2 separate regions of the Homo sapiens genome follow, and region 1 is linked to region 2. Evidence: promoter capture Hi-C in human tissues and cell types (Jung and others, 2019). All regions are on one chromosome and are shown on one strand. The core of a region is centred on a gene start or on the middle of the fragment in contact, and the rest is flanking DNA. Distances in the headings are between cores, read along the strand shown. Region 1 overlaps KCNQ5 (potassium voltage-gated channel subfamily Q member 5). Region 2 holds the start of MTO1 (mitochondrial tRNA translation optimization 1).

What was found. The method cuts DNA at HindIII sites, captures the fragments that hold promoters and counts their contacts. A contact is called where the count stands out against the background at its distance.
Region 1: a contact is called between a fragment that was not itself captured here and the fragment with the promoter of MTO1 in region 2, in 1 of the 25 tissues and cell types used here (lymphoblastoid cells).

The regions. Positions count from the first base shown.
Region 1 is chr6:72,676,040-72,679,152 of GRCh38, forward strand. All of the region lies in intron 1 of KCNQ5 (potassium voltage-gated channel subfamily Q member 5), which reads left to right. KCNQ5-IT1 (KCNQ5 intronic transcript 1) reads left to right here. Exons shown (of 4, transcript NR_120503.1): 3 at 1,056-1,175; 4 at 2,315-2,519. Among named protein-coding and RNA genes, the nearest start is that of KCNQ5-IT1, 47 kb to the left of the region's middle. The HindIII fragment of the contact is 4,524 bases long and covers 1-3,113 here.
Region 2 is chr6:73,460,084-73,463,290 of GRCh38, forward strand. MTO1 (mitochondrial tRNA translation optimization 1) reads left to right here and starts at 1,654. Exons shown (of 12, transcript NM_012123.4): 1 at 1,654-1,988. The coding sequence starts at 1,772. RefSeq lists a silencer at 1,155-1,214 and enhancers at 1,647-2,492, 1,665-1,994, 2,065-2,124, 2,145-2,194. The HindIII fragment of the contact is 26,494 bases long and covers 1-3,207 here.

The sequences.
Region 1 (3,113 bases), core at 118-2,617, 780 kb before region 2:
TTATAGGATTTAATTTCATTAACTCTTGCAAAGACCTTTGGACTTTTGAGGTTACAAAAGCAGTGTTTTTGGATAATGGGAGGTAACTAACCTGACTTGATCTACTGCACATCCTATTTCGTACTTCATGAAAAAGACTGGGTATTCTCTACTCTTATCTTGAACACAAAGACACATCAGCATGCACATCAGCATGTGAGCTAGGAATGGGAGAAGTGTGTGGGAATGTAATGTATCTGAAAGAATGGAAAATTTTGTCTTTCTCTCCCTTTTTCTTGGATTATTTAAATTTTTTATGTCACAAAGCAGCAGAATAAAATTTCCATCATAAAGTATTTTACTCTATTATAACCTCAATTTTACTGAGTCAGAATATGCTCAGGGCTGACACAGGAGGGAGAAGATGTTTCCGTTGTATGGTAAGTCTGAGAAGAAGCAGATTGGTGTCTCTGTTCCCAGTTTTTGAAGTGAATTTCTGGAGTAAGCATCCTAAATTGAGAAAGAACATAAATATTTCTGTATGGAAATGTTAGAAAACAAGATTCTGGTAATTAGTATGAAATTTTACTATTCATCCCTTTAGATTGTCGTGGTTGCATTAATTGACCAACATTGCTTTTTAAAAATGCTGTCACTTCTCCTTGTTTATATCTATTTTTGCTTTTTTCCATACATTTGACATTTTCTTTAAAATCTGGGCATATAAAATGCTGATTAAAAATATTTTTATGTGGAGTTGAAATCAATGTGTCAAGATTCTTCATTGTATTTTCCTTCAAAAAAGGCTGCTGTAACATAGGACCAAATGTTAAGGGTGCTTGCTGGCATAACTCCAAAGCAGTGTTTTTGGATAACAGGAGTCTTTAATTCTTAGGTATAATTGATATTTTTAGTTAGTACTTTTTTCAGCTTTGTTTTTGGTTTGATTTGGGGTATATGTATGTATGTATGTTTCTATAACAAGTTTTGAATTTTTTTGAAGACTTATCTTCTTAGGCCACCAAAGCAAATTAGTTCAGTAATTATAGTCTCAGTTTACCTTGTTTCCCTCTCAGTGGGTCAACCAAAACCGCATGGCGTACTACTCTCTGAAGCCTCTACTACCCTGCTCCTCCGTGTTGACATGTGGTCAGGCAAGCCAGGACTTACTCACATCAGCTACATCAGTTACTGGGGTAAGAAACTCTGGGCTTTTCAGATACTGTCCTCCAGAAACACCAGCACCAGCCTTTGGGTTTAAGATCACCTGGTGAGATTGATTATCTTTAGGGAATGGTGCAGATGGGATAGTTTCTAGACAATTTGGGAACCTCAGAAATGGGAGTACTTATATTAGAATGACATAAAATAACTTTTTGCCCCAGGGATCTTGCAGTAAAGATTATCATCACAGTTGGCCATACCATGAACTTTTCTAAGTTATTTAAATTTACCTTGAAATGTTATCAGTGTCTGCTGTCACAGAGAATAAATGTATCTGGTATTAACATTTTACTCATGCTTGCCTTGCCTTTACTAAATCTTATCTTGTAATTGAAGAACTTGACTATTTTTAATTCTGAATACAATATGCCTCAGAATAAGGTTTTAAGCTTTAGGTAAGGTAAAGTTTAACTTTAGTTTGTATCTGTGACACCTAACACAATACTAAGGAATTCAACTGAATGAGAAATTTATTCTAGGCATCCACCATGTTCAAAACATACTAAGTACCTAGGAATTACTTATAGAATAGATGTAACTCTATTGAACTATAAATCAAATATCAACATACAAAGTTGAGTGAGCAGACTTGTTTGCCTCTTTTCATTTTTTGTTACACTGATGGATACCACATGTCTTAGGTGATTGGGGGTGCGGTGGCTAGTAATTACTGCCATTATTGTCTGTGATACAGCAGTGTTCAGATAGCAGCTATTCTGCTTATAATCAGATGAACAAGATATTATGTTTGGCTTTGTTTATGGAAAAAAAGAAATTTTATTAAATTGTGGTTAGAGGCCTGTTAGCATAAAGGATGAATGGTTTCTTGGAATTACAACTTGAATATTTTGAGAGAAACAAATGAAAAGTATCTCACTGTAGGGCTGAATTGGTTTGTGACCTTGCTTCTCTAGCTGAAATCTATTGACTCTCTCAGAAGTATTGCTAGGAGAAGAAATAATCCTATAAAAGGACATTAAGCAATGCTAAGAAAAAGATGATGATAATAATAATGCTTTCAGCTCACCATGTGCCAAACATCATATTAAACACTTTAAGTGCATTATTACATTGAATTCTCACAACCCTACACCATATCCTCATTTTACAGATGGAGAAAATTGAAGCCTAGAAAGATCAAGAAACTTTCTCCAGGCCATAAATAGAGGAATCAGGATTCAAATCAGATAGACCCCAGGGCTTGTTCTCTTCAACACCACATTACCCTACATTATTATTCAATTATTAAATAAAACCTTGCATTAGTGGCATTTCCAAATGCATAACAAAAAAATAAAAAAAAGTAACACTGGTCATATGTATCGTATTTTTTATAAAAATTACATTATTCCATTTGTTTTTCTGGAAATTTTTATTGCATTGAGTTGCTAGAATACCATAATATAAAACTTGGCATTTTCTCAATAAATGTGTATGATGCTGTAGTAGGTGTTTAAGATGTCTTTGGAACAACATTTAATTTGTAAGATCTTTTTTATTAATGTGCTGAATTAAGTAATTATTTCTTTCCCACTTTGGGTATGTTCCATATTTGATTTTCTGCTGCTTTCAAGAAGCCATACAATAGAATTCTTAATCCCGTTTTGACTCAACTTCTTTCCAAAAACTAAAATAAAAATAAAAGACATGAAGCACTTCTTTTATCTTATTAGAAAAGCCAATAAAATGAAAGAATCTTCAAAGCAATTTTTTCAAAATATAAAATTGGCAGAGTATTTTGTTTATGAAACTATGGAAACCAAGTTGAGATTTATAAACAAGGACTTCAAAACTTGTTTTGCTAATGCAGTGTCACTCAAGAATTCACTGAACCTCACAAGGTAAACTTGCAGAGAATGTTTGTTTTGGGAAATGATGATGATGACAGGCAAGAATTTTCTAGGTAGAAA
Region 2 (3,207 bases), core at 404-2,903:
GTATATCCAGTGTATTAGCAGCATTGCAGGACCAGAAGGCAGTGACCCCCCTGGACCCAGCTTTCAATATCTTCTGTGTGTCTATTATTTCTCGACCTGCCAATCCGCCTGGGAACAAAGAAAGAGCCCCATTGCATTGTGGGCTGCTGGCCAGATCCTGCAATACCACACTTGTTTTATTCTCCAGTCAAACGTTGCCTTTCTGAGAAAGGCTGTGAATTGAGAAAGGCTGTGAATTCCAAAAGGCTGGACATTTAACCTCCAACCAACCGATTCTTCTAATTAACCAATTAGCCATCATGAATCTCTCTCTCTCTTTTTTTTTTTTTTGAGACAGAGTCTCACTCTTGTCGCCAGGCTGGAGTGCAGTGGCACGATCTCGGCTCACTGCAACCTCTGCCTACGGGTTCAAGCAATTCTCCTGCCTCAGCCGCCCAAGTAGCTGGGACTACAGGTGCATGCCACCACACCTGGCTAATTTTTTTTTTTGTATTTTAGTACAGACGGGGTTTCACCATGTTGCCCAGATTGGTCTCGAACTCCTGAGCTCAGGCAATCTGCCCCCTTCGGCCTTCCAAAGTGCTAGGATTACAGGCGTGATCCACCATGCCCAGGCACCATCATGAATCTTTCAGTCCACAAATATATTTGAACTCCTTTCGAATCTATTCTTTTTCTTTTCTTTTTCTTTTTTTTTTTTTGAGACGGAGTCTTGCTCTGTCGCCCAGGCTGGAGTGCAGTGGCACAATCTTGGTTCACTGCAACCTCGGCCTCCCAGGTTCAAGCGATTCTCCTGCCTCAGTCTCCTGAGTAGCTGGGATTACAGGTGCATGCCACCACTCCCGGCTAATTTTTTTTTTTTTTTTTTTTTTTTTTTTTTTTAGTAGCGATGGGGTTTCACCATGTTGACCAGGATGGTCTCCATCTCCTGACCTTGTGATCCACCTGCTTCGGCCTCCCAGAGTGCTGGGAATACAGGCGTGAGCCACCGCGCCCGGCCCGAATCTATTCTTATTTTCAGCCCTTAGTTTTTATAGACAAACAGAAGGTGACGGTGTATCAGATTGTCAGATCACAAAGATCTGATAAGGCAAAGTGATCAAATTCATTGATCGTAGGTGGCCACCTGGCGATAAGGACTGCAGGGCCTAAGAAAGTACAAAAGATGACCTTTAGTAGGAGCTCCCAACCCAGAACCACAGGAAATCAAAAAAAGCCCGCACGGGCGGATCACGAGGTCAGGAAATCGAGAACATCCTGGCTAATACGGTGAAACCCAGTCTCTACTAAAAATACAAAAAATTAGCCGGGCGTAGTGGCGGGCGCCTGTAGCCCCAGCTACTCGGAGGCTAAGGCAGGAGAATGGCGCGAACCCGGGAGGGGGAGCTTGCAGTGAGCCGAAATCGCGCCACTGCATTCCAGCCTGGGCAACAGAGCGAGACTCTGTCTCAAAATAAATAAATAAATAAATAAATAAATAAATAAATAAATAAATAAATAAATAAATAAATAAAAATAAAAAATAATAATAATAAAAAAAGCCCGCACGAACTAGGAAAGAAAATACACAACCGGCCCTCCGTGCGATCACCCATCTCCCTCACCAGGAAAGTAGCTCCAAACCGCCAATCAGCGGCGACGCTGGACGTAGACGTCCTACCCCGTGATATTAAAGCAAGATGGCCGCGCCCTGCAGATTGTCTCTTGTTGCGTAAGTTTTTTTGACCGTCACTCGTGTCAGCTTCAAAGTCAGATAGATTTTTCTCCCAGCATGTTCTACTTCCGAGGCTGTGGCCGTTGGGTCGCGGTTTCCTTCACCAAGCAGCAATTTCCGTTGGCACGGTTGAGCAGTGACAGCGCGGCGCCCCGGACTCCGCACTTCGACGTGATAGTCATTGGTGGAGGACATGCCGGGACTGAGGCAGCCACCGCCGCCGCTCGGTGCGGCTCTCGGACTCTGCTCCTCACTCACCGCGTGGACACGATCGGTGAGGAGCGCGGGTGCTGTGGAACTTGGCGTAGGACGCAGGCTGCTTCCTTCCCGCCTCCCCCGGTCTGAAGCGGGGGACCTCTTCCTTTCCTCAAAGCTAGTGAGAATCCTACCTTCTGTGGTTTTAGCCTCGATCAGTGTCTCGCAAGGATCAGGCGGGCCAGGCCAGAACTCTATATTAGTCTATTCTGCGAACCATAGATTATGCTGCTGCTGACAGTCGTCCGTTGTAGGAGGTTGGGGTTCGGGGTCAGTGCCTTGGGAAAGGGAGCTACCAACTACTCGCTGGTAGCTTCTTAGTTCATTGCTGCGTTTACCTTCTACTATGTTACTCCAGATAAAGGGTGAATTAACATTATTAACAATGGTTTATGGCCAGGTGCAGTGGCTCACTTCTTTAATCCCAGCACTTTGGGATGCCAAGGCAGGTGGATCACCTGAGGTCAGGAGTTTGAGACCAGCTTGGCCAACACGGCGAAACCCCGTCTCTACTAAAAATACAAAAATTAGCCGGGCATGGTGGCGGGCGCCTATAATCCCAGCTACTCGGGAGTCTGAGGCAGGAGAATCGCTTGAACCCGGGGGCAGAGGTTGCAGTGAGCCGAGATTGCGCCACTTCACTCCAGCCTGGGCAAAAGAGCAAAACTCCGTCTCAAAATAATGATAATATTAATAAAATAAAAAAATCCTTTATTAAACGGTTCTTGTGTTTTTATTTAAAAACATTTTTTTAGAGACAGGGTCTCGCCATGTTGCCCAGGCTGGAGTGCAGTGACTACTCATAGGCACGATCGTTGCACATTACAGGCTCCGCTTTCTGGACTCAAGAACTTTTCCTGCCTCTGCCTAACCAGTAGCTGGGATTGCAGGTGCTCAGTACTCTGCCCAGCCTGATCTTTGTGTTTCTGTCAAGATTTTGTGATGCCTTTTGGAAGAACCATGCTACCTTTTTTTTTTTTTTTTCTTTTGAGACAGAGTCTTGCACTGTCACACAGGCTCAAGTGCAGTGGCGCCATCTCGGCTCACTGCAAGCTCCGCCTTCCGGGTTAATGCCATTCTCCTGCCTCAGCCTCCCGAGTAGCTGGGATTACAGGCACCCACCACCACGCCCGGCTAATTTTTTTTTTCTTTGTATTTTTAGTAGAGTCGGGGTTTCACCATGTTAGCCAGGATGGTCTCGATCTCCTGACCTTGTGATCCGCCCGCCTCGGCCTCCC